7 separate regions of the Homo sapiens genome follow, and regions 1, 2, 3, 4, 6 and 7 are each linked to region 5. The links are contacts of gene promoters, found by promoter capture Hi-C in blood cells and fetal thymus (Javierre and others, 2016). All regions are on one chromosome and are shown on one strand. The core of a region is centred on a gene start or on the middle of the fragment in contact, and the rest is flanking DNA. Distances in the headings are between cores, read along the strand shown. Region 1 overlaps UBE2J1 (ubiquitin conjugating enzyme E2 J1). Region 2 overlaps RRAGD (Ras related GTP binding D). Region 3 overlaps BACH2 (BACH transcriptional regulator 2). Region 4 overlaps BACH2 (BACH transcriptional regulator 2). Region 5 holds the start of MDN1 (midasin AAA ATPase 1). Region 6 overlaps BACH2 (BACH transcriptional regulator 2). Region 7 overlaps LOC105377891 (a long non-coding RNA gene).

Evidence for each region. The method cuts DNA at HindIII sites, captures the fragments that hold promoters and counts their contacts. A CHiCAGO score of 5 or more calls a contact.
Region 1: a fragment that was not itself captured here is called in contact with the fragment with the promoter of MDN1 in region 5 in 1 of 17 cell types (neutrophils); the score reaches 6.9 in neutrophils.
Region 2: a fragment that was not itself captured here is called in contact with the fragment with the promoter of MDN1 in region 5 in 1 of 17 cell types (erythroblasts); the score reaches 5.4 in erythroblasts.
Region 3: a contact is called between a fragment that was not itself captured here and the fragment with the promoter of MDN1 in region 5, in 1 of 17 cell types (activated CD4 T cells). The highest score is 5.3, in activated CD4 T cells.
Region 4: a contact is called between a fragment that was not itself captured here and the fragment with the promoter of MDN1 in region 5, in 2 of 17 cell types (total B cells and activated CD4 T cells). The highest score is 5.4, in total B cells.
Region 6: a fragment that was not itself captured here is called in contact with the fragment with the promoter of MDN1 in region 5 in 2 of 17 cell types (activated CD4 T cells and total CD8 T cells); the score reaches 6.4 in activated CD4 T cells.
Region 7: a fragment that was not itself captured here is called in contact with the fragment with the promoter of MDN1 in region 5 in 2 of 17 cell types (activated CD4 T cells and fetal thymus); the score reaches 5.3 in activated CD4 T cells.

What each region holds. Positions count from the first base shown.
Region 1 is chr6:89,336,796-89,339,687 of GRCh38, forward strand. It overlaps UBE2J1 (ubiquitin conjugating enzyme E2 J1), which reads right to left. Exons shown (of 8, transcript NM_016021.3): 4 at 1,664-1,748; 5 at 1,410-1,515. Among named protein-coding and RNA genes, the nearest start is that of UBE2J1, 14 kb to the right of the region's middle. The HindIII fragment of the contact is 6,108 bases long and covers 1-2,892 here.
Region 2 is chr6:89,403,665-89,406,364 of GRCh38, forward strand. The region is part of intron 1 of RRAGD (Ras related GTP binding D); the gene reads right to left. Among named protein-coding and RNA genes, the nearest start is that of RRAGD, 7.3 kb to the right of the region's middle. The HindIII fragment of the contact is 1,469 bases long and covers 702-2,170 here.
Region 3 is chr6:90,175,638-90,178,337 of GRCh38, forward strand. All of the region lies in intron 4 of BACH2 (BACH transcriptional regulator 2), which reads right to left. Among named protein-coding and RNA genes, the nearest start is that of BACH2, 120 kb to the right of the region's middle. The HindIII fragment of the contact is 903 bases long and covers 852-1,754 here.
Region 4 is chr6:90,251,557-90,254,349 of GRCh38, forward strand. It overlaps BACH2 (BACH transcriptional regulator 2), which reads right to left. Exons shown (of 9, transcript NM_021813.4): 3 at 957-1,034. Among named protein-coding and RNA genes, the nearest start is that of BACH2, 44 kb to the right of the region's middle. RefSeq lists an enhancer at 39-128. The HindIII fragment of the contact is 2,462 bases long and covers 191-2,652 here.
Region 5 is chr6:89,818,474-89,821,300 of GRCh38, forward strand. It overlaps MDN1 (midasin AAA ATPase 1), which reads right to left and starts at 1,321. Exons shown (of 102, transcript NM_014611.3): 1 at 1,033-1,321. The coding sequence starts at 1,134. RefSeq lists enhancers at 1-398, 975-1,364, 1,019-1,638, 1,639-2,258. The HindIII fragment of the contact is 1,090 bases long and covers 974-2,063 here.
Region 6 is chr6:90,280,209-90,283,100 of GRCh38, forward strand. The region is part of intron 1 of BACH2 (BACH transcriptional regulator 2); the gene reads right to left. Among named protein-coding and RNA genes, the nearest start is that of BACH2, 15 kb to the right of the region's middle. The HindIII fragment of the contact is 6,848 bases long and covers 1-2,892 here.
Region 7 is chr6:90,300,899-90,303,889 of GRCh38, forward strand. All of the region lies in intron 1 of LOC105377891 (a long non-coding RNA gene), which reads left to right. Among named protein-coding and RNA genes, the nearest start is that of BACH2, 5.6 kb to the left of the region's middle. RefSeq lists an enhancer at 2,178-2,322 and a cis regulatory region at 2,250. The HindIII fragment of the contact is 2,935 bases long and covers 13-2,947 here.

The DNA of each region.
Region 1 (2,892 bases), core at 316-2,815, 480 kb before region 5:
GTTTATCCACAATGGTAGCATGCTACCACGGTTGAATGCAAAAATCTTTGTTTTTTTTTTTTGAGACAAGGTCTCAACTCTGTCCCACAGGCTTGAGTGCAGTGGCACAATCATGGCTCACTGCAGTCTCAACCTCCCCAGGTCAAGCAATCCTTCCACCTCAGTCTCTAAGTAGCTGAGACTACAGGCACGTGCCACCACGCCCAGCTAATTTTTGTATTTTTTTGTAGAGCTGCAGTTTCGCCATTTTACCCAGGCTGGTCTCGAACTCCTGAACTCAAGCAATCCACCTGTCTTGGCCTGCCAAAGAGCTGGGATTACAAGTGTGAGCCACCATGCCCGGCCCAAAATCATTTTTTAAAAGGTTTCTATTATAGACTGAGAATCTAGAATATACAGTGAGAAGCCTAGAAGAACAAGAACTCCAGTTCTTTTTTTTTTTTTTTTACCTCGCACATGAAATCAACTGGATAAAGGCATCAAGATAAAAAAACCAACGTAGTAAATCGAATGAAAACAAATACTATGTATTCAAAGTACATAGTGTAATCTATGAAGAGCTGTATAAATAAAGTACATACCCATAGTTTGGAAATAAGGTTTAAAAAGAAAAGTTGCTTATAAGACCAAGAAGTCTACCAAATCTTCCAGATGCTAAAATCTAACTGATTTAGCAAATATCTGTAGAGGGCCTACTCTGGGGTGTGCTAGGGTAAAATATGATATAATTTAATTAACATAATATGTCTGAAGGGTGGTAGGCAGCAGACTCCAGAGCAGAAAAATTATCAACATCAAAAATTAGGTATCAGCACTACTCAAAGAGGGGCTACTCTGAATGGAAGGACTGATCTTGGTCATATAGACAAAAGTGCACCTGCACCTGAAAAAAACAGAGAAGGCATCACTTCTCTGTTTGTGATTGCCACTGGGCAATCACAACTTGATAAAATCTCTTTTGCTTTATTCCAGATCATTTATTAAGCACTTGCTATGAGCTAGATGCAAAGATGGATAAAGTGGATTACCTCTTGGCCCTCAAGAGGTTTGTAATCTTGTGGAAAGCTACAAATAATTGCTCTGGTTCTTTTCCATCTATAATGCCATAGTGGAAACAAATGACTGGTATTGTTTTCCAGGAGAATATATCTCCCACTGAATTTTTTAAAAATAGTGAAATAGTATCAACTACTTTTTAAGACTAGATAGCATTAAATAAATTACTTAGATTCTGGTCACTCCAAGGAAATTATTACAACTGAATTCCTAAAAGAGCAAAACTGAGATAAGATCCTGTAGCTACAGTCACTCAGAAAATAAGTCACATAGTAAGAGGTAGGCCCTACCTCCTAATAGCCATTACCCTGAATACTATTCAGACCTCAAGAAGAATGAAATGCAAAACTTACTTTTTGGCAAGTGCTCTTCTTTCCTCAGGAGTGTAATCTAGAGAACCTATGGCTCCCTCTCCTTTTGTTGGCATAAACCCAATGATGGCTAATAATGCTGTCCTTACTGAAATAAAAAAGTAAATATCAATCTAAATTGCTTTGTAAAAGCAACTGGGTTTATTCTGGAAAAAGAAAAAATCAGAGTATTATACTTCATAACTATGAATTGACTGAAGTTATGAGATTTATATTCACTATAAATTAACACTTACTACTCCACGAAGGCTGCCAAGTTTCAGGATGATGGCCTGAGATGCTCAAACAGATTTTCTTGCCCACTTCAAATCGACCATTAGCCTGAGGAATAAACAATGCATTTAGAAAATTAAATACATGTGCTTAATGTTTATACTTTCTGTAAAAATATACTATTTATATATAATAATTTTAGAGATTATCTTAAAAAGTTTGTTTTTTTTTTTTTTTTTTTTTTTTTTGAGATGGAGTCTCGCTCTGTCACCCAGGCTGGAGTGCAGTGGTGTGATATCAGCTCACTGCAAGATCCACCTCCCGGGTTCACGCCATTCTCCTGCCTCAGCCTCCCAAGTAGCTGGAACTACAGGCGCCTGCCACCAGGCCTGGCTAATGTTTTGTATTTTTAGTAGAGACGGGGTTTCACCGTGTTAGCCAGGATGGTCTCGATATCCTGACCTTGTGATCTGCCCACCTTGGCCTCCCAAAGTGCTGGGATTACAGGCATGAGCCACCGCGCCCGGCCAAAAAGATTTTTTTTTAAATGTAACCTCTCATGGGACACAGATTTTTTGTCCTTATAGACTCCAAAAATACTTGTTGGATGCTGAATAATAAAAGCTGTTTTTAGAAGGTGTTTTACAGCACCTTTTGAAACTGAGTTGCACAAGTGAAATCTAAATAATTAACATGTAAAGTTTTACTGGCCAGCGAAGTGGCTCACGCCTGTAATCCTAGCACTCTGGGAGACTGAGGCAGGAGGATCACTTGAGGCCAGGAGTTCAAGGCCAGCTTGAGCAACTTAGTGAGACACTGTCACCAAAAAAAGAAAAGAAAGAAAATTAGCCAGGAGTGGTGGCATGTGCCTCTAGTCCTACCTACTTGGGAGGCTAAGACAGGAAGATTACTTGAGCCCAGGAGTTCAAGGCCACAGTGAACTATGACTGCATTGCTGCATGCCAGCCTGGGTGACAGTGTGAGACCCTGTCCCCAAGAAAAGAAAAAAAAAGAGGAGAGGAGGGGAGGAGAGGGGGGGAGGGGGGAGGAGAGGGGATGGGGGAGGAGAGAGGGGAGGGGAGGGGGGAAGGGAGGGAAGTGGGGAGGGGAGGGGGGAAGGGATGGGGAGGGAAGAGGGGTGGGGAGGGGAAGGGGGAAGGAGAGGGGGGAAGGAGAGGGGAGGGGGAAGGGGAGGAGGGAAGGAGTGGGGGAGGGGAGGGGAGGGGAGAGGATTTACTAATGTCCTACCCTG
Region 2 (2,700 bases), core at 186-2,685, 410 kb before region 5:
CTGTCTCTCAGGCTGGAGCTCAGTGAGTGGCTCAATCATAGCTCACTGCAGCCTCAAACTCCTGGGCTCAAGTGATCCTTCTGCCTCAGCCTCCCAAGTAGCGAGGACTACAGGCACACACCACCTCCACCACACCTAGCTAATTTTTTCATTTTTTTTGTTGGGGGATGGTGGTTAGAAGCAGGGTCTCGCCATGTTGTCCAGGCTGGTCTTGAACACCTGGGCTCAAGCAATCCTCCCACCTTGGCATCCCAAAGTGTTGGGATTACAGGCATTAGCCACTGAGCCTGGCAACTTCTTGATTTAAATCTTTATTCTCTATATTTAGAAGACATCAATGTGGCCTTTTGCCATTTTTCCCATATGGGTTATTACACACGTGCTTGAAGAATAAAAAACGGTTGTCATTTGAAGGGATATTAGGTATTGGTAAGCAACTTCTGCCTTTCTGTAAAATTTTAATATTATATTCCAAAGGGGGCTTTTTCCTATTAGTCTAAAATTTGGGCCCAATGGCCTGTGTAACACAAAGTATAGAAAAATACAAACACACGATTTTGCAGTTTGTAGCTTAACAAAATTAAAATTGTTGTTAAAACAAACTGAGGCCTCAGTGCTTACCCACAACAAACACTCAATAGATGTTTGTTGGGATGATTACATGAAAGTGACTGAGCAGAATTTGAGGCTAAATTAACTGAAGCTTTAAAAAGAAAATTCATGTCTGACTTTGGCCCAGATCAGCACTTGGAACTGGGTATCAAGAGGATCAGCTTTATGCCTAGGTGAAGTTTATTTACTGTGGTCAGGGACACCAAATAGACCTCACCTCTCCTCCACTTGGTGCTATCAATACCCAGATTTTCCAGAGATCTCAGCCTTCGAACTGGACTGCTGTAGACCCCAGGAAATTCAATCACCCAAGGAACAGCACTATGGGGAGGGGTCATCAAATTGAGCCATTATCAGTCTTTAACACCTGAAGGCTAATCACTTAATCCGGAATTATCCAGTAACCAGCAGAGCCCTGTCAAAAACCAACAGGCCTTAGTAAAAAAAGAAGGGAGAAAAAGATGGATTAGTGCCTCGAGTACAACAGGGCTGCCTGGGGACCCTGCCTGACTGATCTGAGGGTTAGGAATGCTTACAACAAAGAAGAAACCAGAAATCAGGAAAATGGGAATTGAAAGCCAATGTTCACCTCCTTACACAGCTCTTAAGGTTGGCCCTGCCATCCTAAGCTCAAGGATCTCTACAGGAAGAATGAGATATCATATGAAATGCACTTCAGAAATTCTATTGAGAAGTATTATAATTAAGGAGAGTTCTCTGAGAGGTAGCATCTTTGAATAGGCTCAAAACAGGAAAATAAACTATTTAATGCAAGAATTAAGATAACATAGTGGCCAGGCACGGTGGCTCACACCTGTAATCCCAGCACTTTGGGAGGCCAAGGTGGGCGGATCACGAGGTCAGGAGATCGAGATCATCCTGGCTAACACGGTGAAAACCCGTCTCTACTAAAAAAAATACAAAAAAATCAGCCAGGTGTGGCAGCGTGCGCCTGTAGTCCCAGCTGCTGGGGAGGCTGAGGCAGGAGAATGGCGTGAACCTGGGAGGCGGAGCTTGCAGTGAGCCGAGATCGCACCACTGCACTCCAGCCTGGGTGACAGAGCAAGACTCCGTCTCAAAAAAAAAAAAAAAAAAAAAAGAGATAACATAGTGGCGAAGTGATGGCAAATGGAATGGTTGAAAAAGTACTAGGTTAGTGTCAGACTAGGATTCAAGTCCCAACTCTCCATTTACTAGCTATGTGACCCCATACATGTCCCCTTGCCCATGAGCCTTCATTTCCTCCTCTATCAGCATACACGCATACACACGGACACACACACAGGCACACAAGGACACACGCACAGGACACACGCAGGCACACAAACACACTCCCCTTCTTTTTTCCCACCCCAAGCCTAGGCAACGAGAGGGTCTTCAGTGGAATGTGACTATAGTAAGAGGCTCACTCAACCTTAAGGGAAAATTAGAATTTCTTCGCTATTAGTATTCTGTGGAATCAACAAACGCTTAAGCGTCTATGTGCTTATGGTTTTAGGAAGAGGCCCCTGGTGTGTTTCTATTTGCAGCTTTCTCTGTGGCTCCTTTAAATTTCTGAAGCTTACGTTGATCAATGGAACTACTTATACATTCAAGACCCAGGAGTTCAATAAGAAATTCCAACCCAAGTGGGAATGAATCATATGACTAATACTACTACTAACAAAAGCTATGCAAAAATCACGAAGATTCACTGTCCATTTGATTAACTACTTAGTAAGGAAAATTAAATGCAAACAGAACACATATTTTTCAAAGGCATAAAGATTTTTGAAGGTGATTCTTTTATTTAGCGTGAAAACTAAATCTTTATGAAATCCTCTCAAGTCACACTGGCAAATAACTAAAAAACATGATAAATACCACATATGAATATTTCCTTAACATATGTATTCAGTAGCAGTCCTAATGATAAGGGGAGTGCTGGGAAGGGAAGGGTGTGGTCCCTTTAAACGGTATGGAAGGGAGAAGGGAAGTGCCAGGCAGAGAGAAGGGCATGGTCCCTGGCTAGGGCTGCACCCCCACAGGCCTAGGTGAGGTCAGGCATTTCCGGCCCAAATGTTGCAAGACCACCGTGGCCTGCCACAT
Region 3 (2,700 bases), core at 53-2,552, 360 kb after region 5:
ACAGGTTGACTAAGAATAGAAGGTATCATTATGTATTTTACATATTTTGTATTTTCTGCATATTAGATGTTTTGACATCTTAAAACTACCTTTCTGGCTAGAGAGAGACTGTCTCTTTCAAGGCTAGCCGATTCTCAGAGATAACAAAGAGCCCGGCTGGTAGCATGCCTTTGACAAGAAAATTCACCAATCTAGAGACACCCCTCCTCTATCTGGCCCTCAGAGGCAATATTTCTCTGCCTTTACTATACCACAGCCAGGTACCAAGCAAGCAGGGACCACCCAGAAAGCTTGGAGCCTAACCAAACTACTTCAACTAGCAATTCTAAACTGTTAACCCTGCCCTGCCTTGCCTTTCCCTTGGAAACTCCAATAAAGGCTGTGGCTGGCCCAAGCTCTCCCCTGGCTCCTGCCTTCTGCCTCCTGACTAACACGGGTGTTTTCCCTTGTGGCCCTGCGTAGCATGTGGTGACACGCCTCTATGGGACCTGTGAATGTAACAAATTTCTTCCTTCCAAGCCCTGTTCTCATTTCCCCTTCAGTGGCTGTACTGATTTTATCACATATCCAACATGTACATTCTTAAAACACATAGCAAAGCAGGAGTTTCAGATGTTAACCAAGGTCTCCAGGAATGACAATTCTGGAGCTCAGGGCGAGCAGAGATTAGTGAAGGAGGGAGCAAATTTACAGGAAACAAGAATATGCAAATACTGAGAGTTTGAGAGTTCAGTGGTCGAAAAACAGGAGATAGCTGTGGAAAGTGCACACTGGGAAGGGGCAGCTCTGAGGCACCTCACGGCACCTGGACAACCTCAACCAGCTTAAGGTGCCTAACAGAGGAATTTATAAGCTTCTTGCTGGTATGGGAACAAATCCCCAAGTGAGGTGCCTGCTAGATAGATCTGCAGGTTGAAGTAGATCAGGGAAACGACACACCGGAGGAGAGGGATGTAGGGGCAGAAAAGAGGGGCCCATCCAAAAAATGTGTGTGTATCCCCACCTACCCTTACCTCCTTCCACTTTTTCTACAAGCGTCAGAACTGCTCAACATCATCACTTCCAAATCAGTTTTGGTGACAGAGTCCAATTGCCCAAACCAGATGCAATGCCCTCATTATGTCTTACCAGCCCTCCTGCTCCTGCCTCCTCCAGTTCATGCTTCACGTAGCCACAGAGTAATCTTTATAGAACACAAATATCACCATATTACTTCCCAGCTTAAAAACCTTTCAGGATTGACCCATATCCACCCAGAGTAGCCTCCAAGCCACTTAGATTGTCCTCCTTTCTGCCGTCCTTCTGGCTTCTCTGGCTGGAGACTTTAGACCACAGCACTGTAAACTGATTCCAACTCCATGTTAATATGTTAATTTAATATGTTAATATTAAAATATTATTTCATGGGTCCAGGTATTAGCACATTATGTACTCTTTTCTCCTTCTGAAAGGAAGAATCTTTGCCTGCCTTAACACTATTATTCATCTTCAAAAATCTGTGCAACACTTCATTCTGAAGCCTCCTCAAACAACTGCAGTCTGCTCGCTTTATGGACCACCTTGCTGCTCTCATTACATTCAATGCACACTATTTTATTCACATGTATGTCTGTCTTCCCAACTACACTGCAGACTACTTGAGGGCAGGGATGGTATCTTATTTTTTCTTTGTATTTCCAGTGGGTAGCACAGCACCTGACCCATAAAAAAACTATCATCTATTGAGCACCTACCGTACAGCAGATCCCATACTAAGCTTTTCAAATGTTATGACGTGAGTTCCCACAACAACTCAATGAACTATTTATAATTACCTCTTTTACAAACGAGGAAACTGAGATTTAGGAGGTTAACATCCCCAGGACCTTCCAGTTAGTAAGTGGTAGAATTCTGATTAGGACTTGGGTCTCTGACACCATTGCCTACGTTAGCTCCTTGGGCCTCTGGTGAAACGTAATGCACGAAATGTGGATCGGATCGTATGAAATCTCCCCCAACTTACACCCTGGGTTGAAGGCTGTGAAGCTTATGCAGAATGCTAGAGGAGGCATTAGGACATGGGGTTTCTGGTTCTGCCACTGATTAACCTCAACTCTGGGCTGTCGCAGGCTTTCTCTGGGCTTCACTTTCCTCATGGGGGAAATGCCATCCTTAACAGATCCCATGTCATATCCTCACTCTTAAGGACCTCTAAAGCTGATAAGAAGGTACTGTGAATCATAAACCTAGGTACTCTTTCTAGATATTGGCCTTGAAACATCTCTTCCTTCACTGAAAAACTGCTTCTGAAAAAGGATGCCAGAAGCCACTTTTGGTCAAGAAAATGTCCACTTTTGTTCTCAGCACAGAGCAGGTACCCGGACTTTCCCTGTTCCCAAGTGCTGTAGACCAAAATAGCAGGGAACCAGGATGAAGTCAGCCAGAAACACGCTTTCTATAACTGCTCTTCACAGAAGAGAAAATCAACAAGCTAGTGTTTAAATAATGTGCAGGGTGTGATACCAACCGAACCTCCGCCCTCCTTCCTGGGGAAATGCAAAGTTTGCTGTGGCCTTTTCACAAACCTCGGAGAGAATGAAATGTCAGCTCTAACACTGAATTTCCCAGCTTCATTCCACTTCCCTCACCACCTCACTATTACCTAAGATGACATTCTGTATATTAGTATACTACATCTTAAACATCATCCCTCACTCAGAC
Region 4 (2,793 bases), core at 172-2,671, 430 kb after region 5:
CTAGTCATATTAAAAAAAGAGAGAACCCTTTTGCTTTCAGAATTTTTTCCCTTAAAAAACGTATGTGTCACCAGGGTATTTTGCCCTCTCTCTTTCTAACTTAGAGGGTAACACCTGGAGTAAGTCATGGGTGACTAATGAAGATGCAACTTTCCCCTCAGCATGATATACTTCACAGGATGGAAGTAAAAGCTTCTAATAGGAGCATTTATTACAATTGTTAGGATTGTAATGGAAAGTTAATTTTGTTTTATAGTTTGTAGAAATGATTCAGGATGATATGAGAACACTTTCTATAAACCTGCACTGATAAAAGGAAGATGATAGTGATGACACATGATATACTTTCTGAGTTGTTTTTCCAGGGGTGGGAAAGTTCAATCCACAGATTTCAAGACAGAAAGAAGAAAGGAAAGGAGAAGGAAGGAAGAAAGAAAACAAAATTTTTTTTAGAATTGACTATGCTCAAATACACTGTGCTTTTTAGCATCAAACTTTCAACCATGGTCTGAGCAGCACTATGTTGTAACAAAACTGGAGTAGCCAGCCTGAGCAAACATGAACATCACAATATTTTAAAGTTCAAATAACATAAGGCACCAGTTTTAAGACTGCCCGGGTATCCTTTTTAGCAATACAAAGATTCACACAACTTGGTGACAGACAGCTTTTCCCTCCAGCCAAATCTGATGAAGACTTGATAATATCACCTGCCATAATCAAAATTCCTGGGCACATGGGAAGGTCTCTGACTCAAATCAAAGAGAGCTTTGGGCCCCAAAGCTATGGGCCCCACAGCTATGGGCTACCAAAGAAAGGTTATAACCAGGCTCCAGTGTAAACCATTTTGTTTCTTTTAACAGTTTTAGATCTTCTAAAGTATATGAGATGATATTAATAAAATTTAAATTTCCTGCTAAATTTTTTTAGTCTCTTTCCTTAAAAGTAAAACTTACAATGATCAGAAAGCATGCTTTCTTCTGGCTTTATCATTCAACTTCCCAGGCAAAGATGATCAACAGCAACACTCTTATCTAAAGCAAAAGTAATGGATATGATTATCACTCTGGACAGAAAGTCTGTATTTGCCCATTTTTATCAATGATTGAGACAATGATCCAGAAGCTGTATTGGTACAAAAACACAACACCAGGGATGCCAGAAACAGGATTACAAAAGTTCTCACAAGGTTAAAAATAGACCAAAATGAATATAGTCAAGTTTACTAGGCTCAAATGTGAGGTCCTGTATGGTCAGTACATGGAGGTCCAGCAGCCTCTTGATTCAATACAGGCAGTGTGATGGGTTTGCAAAAATGTACTCTTAGGCTGCATTAATAAAGACACTGTTCTCAAGGCCAGATAAGCCACAGTCCCTCTCAAACTGCTCAGAAAGAGTAGCTTTAGGGCCAGGTGCAGTGGCTCACGCCTATAATCCCAGCACTTTGGGAGGCCAAAGCAGGCGGACCACTTGAGGTAAGGAGTTCAAGACCAGCTTGGGTAACATGGCAAAACTCGTCTCTACAAGACATACACAAATTAGCTAGGCATGGTGGTATGCAACTGTAGACCCAGCTACTTGGGAGGCTGAGGCAGGAGAATTGCTTGAGCCTGGGAGGTGAAGGGTGCAGTGAGCCAAGATTGCGCCATTGTACTCCAACCTGGATGACAGGAGTGAAATCTTGCCTCAAAAAAAAAAGGGAGGTACTTCTATAATTTGTCCACTACCTTTTAAGGAACTTTCTGATAAACTGGAGAAAGCAAAAAGGAGTGAGATCAGAATGACTGTGGAACTAATATTATGAGAAATATTGAGGGGAACTGGGCATAGATAACTTTGAAAAAGACTTTATTATGGCAGATTTGCCAAGTAAACTGATAATTAGAATTATTTTCGATATAGAAATTAGGATACCTTAGAAGAGGTATCTGCATTTGATGGGTGTTAAACTTCAGGATGTTTAAGGTCTTGCTCAACTCTACCAATCTGTAATTACATGGGGAAAAGTGCTATGTCCCTCATGAAATTAAATACTAAGAACTGGAGGGAGGCTGCATCAACAGATTTTCTGTATCATGTATTGAAGAGTTAATTTTCTCCAACCAAGCTAGTGAATGAAAGGGTAACTCAAGATGAAATAATGATGTCAAAGCATTTTTAATATACCTCGTGGAAGAATCCAAGTGTATTTTAAAGAGAAAACACAGCACTTGTTACACCATATATTTCATATTTGACCTGAAGTTGGTTACACAGAGGCCTTAGTCATAATAAAAAACTTCTCTCTGCTCAAATGCAGTATGTACATAGTCATAAATGAAAACATCATTGCCGAACTATTTTTTTTAAACTATCATGGCACAAATTGCTTTTAACAAAGAAGTCATATTCCAAAAGACCTTTTGTACACAATTGTGCAGTGTATCTTTGTCTTACTGTTTAGTATCCTAAAAGAAATAGTTTTCAAAATATCTACATTCATTTATAAAAACTTGAATGCAGGTAATTTAGCAACAAATCACAACTAGCTGAGAACTGACATAAAAGAATGATCTCCAGGGCCAGAAATAAACCCCAAAAGATAAGACATACTAGAAAAACATGAGAGAGAGAAACAAAATCAATAGACTATCATCTCAATATCTAGTATGAAGCTTGGTAAAGAGTTGATGAATAGAAATAAATGATCCCTACAGACAGACTCAATTAAGTATACAGCATAATTTGTTCATGAAAAAATGAGTATGTGAATCTTCCTAGATCTTTTCAAAAATTACTTAAAAATATTAAATA
Region 5 (2,827 bases), core at 71-2,570:
AAAAAAATTTTTTTTTTAATTAGCCACACCTGGGACCCAAGTACCTGGGACCACACTCACCTGTCCCGTGGCTCACGCCTGTAATCCCAGCACTTTGGGAGGCTGAGGCGGGTGGATCACGAGGTCAAGAGATCGAGACCATCCTGGCCAACATGGTGAAACCCCGTCTCTACTAAAAATACAAAAAGTAGCTAGGCATGGTGGCGCTCGCCTGTAATCCCAGCTACTGAGAGGGTGAGGCAGGAGAATCGCCTGAACCCGGGAGGCGGAGGGTGCAGTAAGCCGAGATCGCGCCACTGCACTCCAGCCTGGCGACACAGCGAGACTCCGTCTCAAAAAAAAAAAAAAAGTGTCTTCAACTCAGATAGAAGGAGTCAATGAGAAGGTTCTTAAAAGCCCGAAGACCTATTTCCCAGAAAACTCTAATTAACCTTATAATTTGTATAGTTAGTTACAGTGAGTATGAGCTGTCTTGCTCTGTACTTCAGCTGTTGTAAGTGTTTACGAACTGTCTCCAAAAACAGATGCAAATTTCCCTCATGGCAGAGATCGTAACGAATTTATCTATCCACTTTCTCACAGCGCCACACCGTTCCTTACGCACAGCAGGAATGCAATCAGTATTTGTCGATGGTTCCCCAAACTAACAGGAGTGGCTGCACTACGCACACTTAGGTGATACGTACACTTGTCAAAACGGCAGAAACGCAACCTCAATTTCAGAAAAACAAACCACATTCCTTTGGGAAGGCCACCTCTGCCACAAGCAGCCAAAGCGCTTGCATAGGGGTGAGAGGCGATGGGAAGGGTACTGGAAGGCTCCCCCAGATAAAAACAAAAGACTCCTTCCAATCGCCTCAAACACGCTCGGAAACCTCCACGACCTGCGCCAGCCCACAGGAGGGGGCCAGCTTGACCTGAGGCTGCACCACTCCCCACTTAAAGCGGCGAGTATCGGCGGGGGAGCGCAGGAAGCTTACTAGTGGGGCGACCCAGTCGTTCCGGCGCTTTCCCTCTCCCTTCACGTCTTACCTGCTTGGCCAAGAACCTGCCCAACTCACTGCGGCTCTTCTCGTTCTTGGCTGCGATTAACCGCAGCGGCGCGGCTGCCACCTCCAGCAAGAAGTGCTCCATGACCCAGGGCCCTCACCCCGAGCGGCCACCTGCGCTCCCTACTTCGCGGCCAGCGTCCCCAAGCCGCCGAGGTCCCAGTGCCCGAGCAGCCAGCAACTACGCCCGCAGGAAAGGCGTCCTCAGCTCCAGCGCCTACACCGGGAGAGGGGCACCACACGTGGGTGAGCACACGGCGTTTGACGTCATCAGCTCGGGACGGCTACGCTGCGCCCTCCCGGCCTCAGCCCCTCAGCGGCGGAAACGCCAGTCTTCGCTGTCCCGCCTTTTCCGGGAGGGAAATGGAAACAAAAATCTAGTCGGTTTGGATGCAGGAGTGATGGGGACTCGCGAACACAGCACGTGGTGGGACAGAAAGAAGAGTGCGTTAGGCCGGGGAGGAAAGAGGGGGCGTGTGAGTCTCAGCCCACCGTGCCTTGCTTCTGCCTTAACACACGGAAAGATCAGATGTGAGAGAAAAGCTGATTCTCGGCCGGGCGCGGTGGCGCATGTCTTTATCCCAGCATTTTGGGAGGCCGAGGAGGGCAGATCACTTGAGGTTAGCAGTTCGAGACCAGCCTGGGCAACATGGTGAAACCCCCTTCTCTACTAAAAATACAAAAATTAGCCGGGCGTGGTGGCGCGCGCCTGTAGTCCCAGCTACTCGGGAGGCTGAGGCAGGAGAATCGCTTGAACCCGGGAGACGGAGGTTACAGTAAGCCGAGATCGTGCAGCTGCACTCCAGCCGCGCGACACAGCAGACTTTTACTGTCTCAAAAAAAGAAAGAAAAGCTGATTCTCCCCTTCTTGTTAGCGGTGGCAGTTACCCCCTGTATAGGTAGGGGTCAGCAGTAACCTTAGTTCTTGCCTCCTCAGAAGAAATAATTCCACGAAGGGCATAAGGCAGGATAGACCTAGACAAGTTTCAGAATAGAAGTAAAAGTTTATCAAAAAGCTTTAGAACGGGACGGAAAGAAAAGGAGGAAAGTACAACTTGGAAGACTGCCAAGCAGGCGACTTGAGAAACCAAGTGCGCAGCTTGACCTGTTGACTTGAAGTTTTATATGTTGGCATACTTTGGGGAACTTGCATTGCTTCTCCCCACTCCTGAGATCTTACTGGGAAGCTACTGATCAGTTTCAGGTGTTTTCTATTAGGAGACTGCCTTTCGCTGGCCCCGGTGAACGTTAGAGAAACAGTTAAGAACCGCCTGACCATCGTTTGATTGTCACCCAATAGTCCTGGTATGTGTGGGGTGGGGAGCGCTCTCCTGTTCTGCTCATACCTAACTAGTTAACATTCTGCCCCAGCAATTCCCCTTGTAGGACTCTAGCCTGCGGAAATCCTCACTAAGTGTGACAAAGACACCCCTTGCAGTTTTCTTAATACAGATATTGGAAGAAAATGTTCAATTGGGAATATTAAACTATGGGGTGTAAGTTATAGCATATTCTGGAAGTCATAAAAAATAGTAGAGTCCATAACATTAAAAGTGCACTTGTGGGCTGGGCGCAGTGGCTCAAGGCAAGGCAGGCAGATCACGAGATAAGGAGTTGGAGACCAGTCTGGCCAACATGGTGAAACCCTGTCTCTACTAAAAATACAAAAATTAGGGCTGGGTGCCTTGGCTCACGCCTGTAATCCCAGCACTTTGGGAGGCCGAGGCGGGCAGATCACCTGAGGTCAGCAGTTTGAGACCAGCCTGACCAACATGGTA
Region 6 (2,892 bases), core at 123-2,622, 460 kb after region 5:
CAGAACCCTAATCTGCTTTTGAATTTTCAATGAATATAAAAGAAAAATTTGAAGACATTAATGGAGAATTTTAAAGCAAGAATCTAATCCTGTATGTTAGAAAGAAGAAAATACAACGTTATGTAATATTTTAATTCTTATAGGTGCCCAAATACATAAGCAACCTAACTTTGACATCGGGGGAAACTGGACAAATCCATTTAAAACTAATTTAGCAACAAATACTTACATGGTTCTGTGGACATGTAACATCCCAAGGTGTTTTAAATTGATAATGTCACCATATGAACTGATAATTTTCAGTTGAACATACAGTTTATTCTATAAAATCATTAAATCTTAAGAACCATGAGGGATCTTAGAGACATTTAGCCCAGTGCCTCTCAAATTTTGATGTTTATGTGAGACCCCAGGGGCACCTTGAGAAAGTGCAGATTCAGACTCAGTAGGTGTGGGTGGCCCTGAGACTTCATTTCTAACAAGCTCCAGGTGATGCCGATGCTGCTGGTCCAGGGACCAGGCAGTGGGTATTGTGGCCCCAGTCAAGTCTAAGGGAGGTCCCACAGCCTCTGCTTGGGCATCTCCAGTATCCAGGACTTGAAACCTGCCTCCAAGGGTAGACATTACAGGGAGGGACTTGTATATTACAGAGAGGGAAGCAACAAGGAAAGGCTGCTTCCACTTCTAGTGATGGAAGACACTCTTTCTCTCCCAACATCTCCTCTTCTCCATGTTGAAAATCCCCACTTCCTTTGGCCACTCTTAGAACTGATAGGTTTCCAGACCCCTAAACATCTTTATCACAGAAAATGCTCCCTCTGTGGTGAAAATCTTTCTTAAAATAAATCCCTTGGGACAAGACATAGCATCCCACACATGGGACATCCAGACCTGAGAGTAGTTGAGTGAGAACATTACATTCCCTGATCTAAAGGGGACAGCTCTCTTAATGTGGCCTTAAGGAGGTGTCGCCTTCTGTAAGAATCACACTGCACTGGTGGCTCACAATGTTGTGGAGGAAATAATACCAAGCAAGTGTTCCCATGTGCACTTGAACAATTATTTTTAACTAAAATGTAGCAATTTACAGTTATTTCTATTTAATGTCATCTTGCTACTATAACAACTCACATAAATCCTTTAAAATGTTTACTAATAGGTCACACATATATAAAAAACATAGACAGTTTTTAAAAACAATTAAGAAGAAAGAATATCCTTGGGACCACTGTCCAGGTTGGGAGATAAAACACTGCCAGGACCTCAGAAGCCCCCAGTGAGCCCCTTCTCTATCATACCCACTCCTTCACCTCTGGAGGTAGCTGTTATACTGCTTTTTGTGACAATCATATTAAATCATATTAATTTTCTTTATAGTTTTACCATCTATGTATGTATCCCTAAATAACATATTTAGTTTTGCATGCTTTTGAACTTTACATGAATAGAATCACACTGTATATATTCTTCTATCTTGCTTCTTTCTTTCCATATTGTTTGTAAGATTCATCCATTTTGATGCACTTTTATTTGTTTAACAAACACATATAGAATGTATTGTCTGCCAGTCATTCTCCTAAGCATGTCACAAACATTGACTCATTTAAACTTCCTAACAACACTATCAGGTAGACATCATTTTCCCTGATGTACAGATGAGAAAACTAAGGTACACTGAAGTTCAGAAATTCATCCAAGGTCACACAATAAGTGGCAGAACCAAAATCTGAACCCAGGCACAATCCTTCCTCTTGACCACCAAGAAATGCTGCCTCTCCACACCCTTCTATATGTGGTTATACTAGTTGATTTTTCATTGCCAAATAGTATCACAGTGTATAAATACCTCACAGCAAAATGTGCTGATTCGATTCAATGTTGATGGGCATTTATTTGGGTTGCTTCCAGTTTTTTGCTCTTATGAACAATGCTTCTTTGAATATGTTTGTCCATGTTTTTTCTTTTAAGTTCAGGGGTATGCACATGTACTGGTTTGTTACACAGGTAAACTTGTGTCATGGAGGTATGCTATACAGATTATTTCATCACTCAGGTATTAGGCCTGGTATCCATTAGTTATTTTCCCTGATTCTCTCCCTCTTCCCACCCTCTAATAGGTCTCAGTGTCCGTTGTTCCCCTCTATATGTCCATGCGTTTTCATCATTTAGCTCCCACTTATAAGTGAGAATGTGCAGTTTGGTTTTCTGTTCCTGTGTTAGTCCGCTTAAGGATAATGGCCCCCAGCTCCATCTATGTCCCTGCAAAGGACATGATCTCATTCTTTTTTATGGCTGCATAGTATTCCATGGTGTATGTACCACATTTTCTTTATCCAGTCTATCACTGATGGGCATTTAGGTTGATTACATGTCTTTGCTTATTGTGAATAGTGCCGCAACGAACATACACGTGTATGTGTCTTAGAATAATTTATATTCCTTTGGGTATATGCACAGTAATGAAACTGCTGGGTTGAATGGTATTTCTATCTTTAGGACTTTGAGCAATCATCACAGTCTTCCACAATGGCTGAACTGATTTACACTCCCACCGAGAGTGTGTAAGTGTTCCTTTTTCTCCATAACCTTGCCAGCATCAATTATTTTTTGTTTTGTTCATGTTTCTTAAAGCACATAGGTAATCATTTTTCTTAGGTGTATACCTAGGGGTAAGATGGCTGTGTTGTAAGTTATTTGCAGGTTGAACTTGGTTAGGTAACAGCAAATTGTTTTCCGATATAATTGTACCAAGTTAGACTCCTGTCAACTAAATACAAAAACTCCCATTCATTCACATCCTTACATGGTATTGTCAGGTTTTAAAATTTCTGCCAATCCAGAGAGTGTGTAATCATATGTTACTATGATTTTAATCTGCATGTGTTTGTTTAT
Region 7 (2,991 bases), core at 230-2,729, 480 kb after region 5:
CTATTATCTAAAAGCTTATATGAAATAAACTAGTAAAATATGGTATATGAAATAAACTAATTTTTCAACATACACTACTGAGCATCTGTTACATGTTGAGGTGAAAAATTAAGAAACATTGGACTGTATCCTTAAGGAACTTAAATCTACATAAGGAGTCAAAACTAATATACATGAAACAATTGAAAAATGTAATTTTGTATTTGATTTTATTACTTTTATATATTAATATTTAAAATTATATAGAAATTGTATGTGTTATAATTTATACTAATGAAAAAATTAAGAATGTACAGATCTTTTTTGTATGATAGCAAAAAGAAAATGGAAAAATCCAAATGCCTTACAGGAAATGATTGGCTAAATAAATGGTGGTTCATATATAAAATATGAATATCATGGATCCATCAAAAATAATATTGGTGGCTGGGCACGGTGGCTCATGCCTATAATCCCAGCACTTTGAGAGGCTGAAGCAGGCAAATTTCTTGAGCTCAGGAGTTTGAGACCAGCCTGGACAACATAGTGAAACCCCATCTCTACCAAAAATAATAATAATAATGAAAAAAATTAGTGATGAAAATTTATGTATATTGATATATTAATATTTTGTTAGTATAGTTTAACAATAATTTGTATAACTATTTACAATAGGATCCTATTTGTGAAAAAAAATTGCCAGTGCATGCATAGGAAAAATCTGGAAGGCTATATGCACAGTGTTCAAGTGGTTCTCTTGAAATAAAGAGCCTATAAGTGGTTTTACTTTTGCTTTTTAAAAAAATTTTCTGTAATATAAATATATTACTTCTGTAATAAAGGTAGCCAATAAATGTTGTAAAATTCAAAATATGCATAATTAAATTCTAACAAGAACTTAAGTATTGTAGATGTTAAGAGGAAAAACAAATTATGAAGGTTAAAGTAGCCAGAAAAGGTTTCACTGAGAAGGTGGAATTTCAGTTGAACCTCAAGGCCAGGAAGGAGTCAGAGAGGAGGGAAGGTGGCTGGACTTTTAATGCAGAAGGACCCCTTGAGGTTACACTTTCATCTGACTATAGCATTCATATCTTGCAGTGTTGGGAAAGAGTGAGAGGTTGTGATGTCAAGAAGGATAGGTCAGAAGTGGAAGGTATGGGGGATTGTGCCTGCTGTCATGGCTAGCAAGGAGTACTGAAGTACCATGGTGACAAAATGCCATTGTGATCATGACTCATTTTTTCAAAATGTAGATTTTTCCTTCTTTCCCCTCCCAATGGCCAAGACCTTGTACCTGTTACTTGCCTGTTTTCTTTTTTTCCAGACACACCTCGAGCATACACAACCTATGTACTAGCACTATTCTAACTTTTGGAGATAAAACACTGCATAAGTCAGGGCTCCTGGACTAGTGGGGAAGGTGAACCGGTGAAGAAGTCCTCACAGCACACCATGCTAAGGGCCTGAATAGGACAAAAGTCTTCTGGCAAGTGACTTTGCTTAGGAGAATGTGGGATGGCTTCCTGGAGGAGGTGACAACAGAGCTGGATTCTGAAGGATGAGATTTTGTGAAAAGAAAATGTTGGAAGGTCATTCCAGGCAGGAAAATTGGAGTAGCGAAAGTGCAGGAATTGAGATGGTTAGCAGCGACAGCCAGTGGTGGAATATGGGACTGGAAAGGTAGACATGGGAAATCAGCATGAAGGTGTAATTTTATCCACAGATCAAAATTCTCATTGAACTTTTCCAGTGAAGTGCTCAGAATGGCAGAGAAAATGGAATGCTAACTTCCTAGGGATCTGAGAACATGGCCCCAAATTGCCTTTTCAAAGCATAAAATGTCTTTGCAGTTTCCTGTTACATGTTAAAAAATCACCTGAACTTCTTTTGTTCTCTTTGAAGTACATGGGTTGATTTTACTAAAAAAGTTTAACAATTTGTGACGATCAGGACTAAAAGTTCCTCTCCCACACCCAAAATCAAAGTACTGAAGGATGTACTTGAGGAAAATGCTCCGAGTTTATCTTCTAATTTCCCCAGAAACACTGAAAAGCCTGGCTGCATGGGTAGAAAGCCGATGAGTGATCCCCAGTTGCCAAAGAGGCATAATCAGATCTGGTTTTGGAAAGAACACAGCATTGGCCATATGAAGGGGCCTGAAGAGGCTGGAGACTATAAGACAGTAGCTCAAGTCCTACAGCCTATGTTAAGGCAGTGAGCAGGGCTGGGAAGCGCTTATGGTTTAGGGGTCATTTGCTTGTGGGAGGAGACGGAGAGGGAGGAAGAAGAGAAAGAGGGAATGGAGACCTCTAGCCTGTGTGACTAGGAGGGAACTGGCCCTGGGAGGCAGGAGGAGGCTAAGATCACTCTGGTAAAGGGTGGAGTCAAAAGGAGGGAAGTTTGACTTCCTCAATGCTGAAGTTTGAGGAATAGCTGGGTTGGGGATGGATGTGGGCACAGAACAAGGAGTTTATGAAAAAGACAGGAATGGAGCCAACAGGAAGGTAGAAAATCAAGCAGAGACTGGGAAGTTGAGGAAGGTAAGGAAAAGGGCATTTCAATGAGGGGCCTGGGAATAGCATCCCATGATTAAGAAAGGTCTGGTGGGATGGGGGCTGTGTGATATGACAGCAAGGAGCTTCTAGACCCACTGCAGAGGAGGGGGGGAATGAATGAGAGAAGTGGGGGCCTGGAAAGATGGAGAAAGGCAGGAAGGTAGGAATCTGAGTGAAGGAAGAGGTAGAAGGTAAGGTAATGGAGCAGATAACAGAAGGAGCACTGATGTAGAGGAAAAAAATGGCAAGAATGCAGAACTCTGGGGCAGGGGTAAACATGGGTAGGTGGAAGAAAGGCAGAACATGAGCATTAAACAGAATTTGCAGGACGGGGGAGGATCACTCAGATCTCGCCTCTGAAAACTGTCTGGATTACAGGGACATCCAAGAAAGGGATGATGCAAAGATTTTGAAGCTTCAGGATAAGATGTAGGGCCAAGAGACATGAAATTTCGGG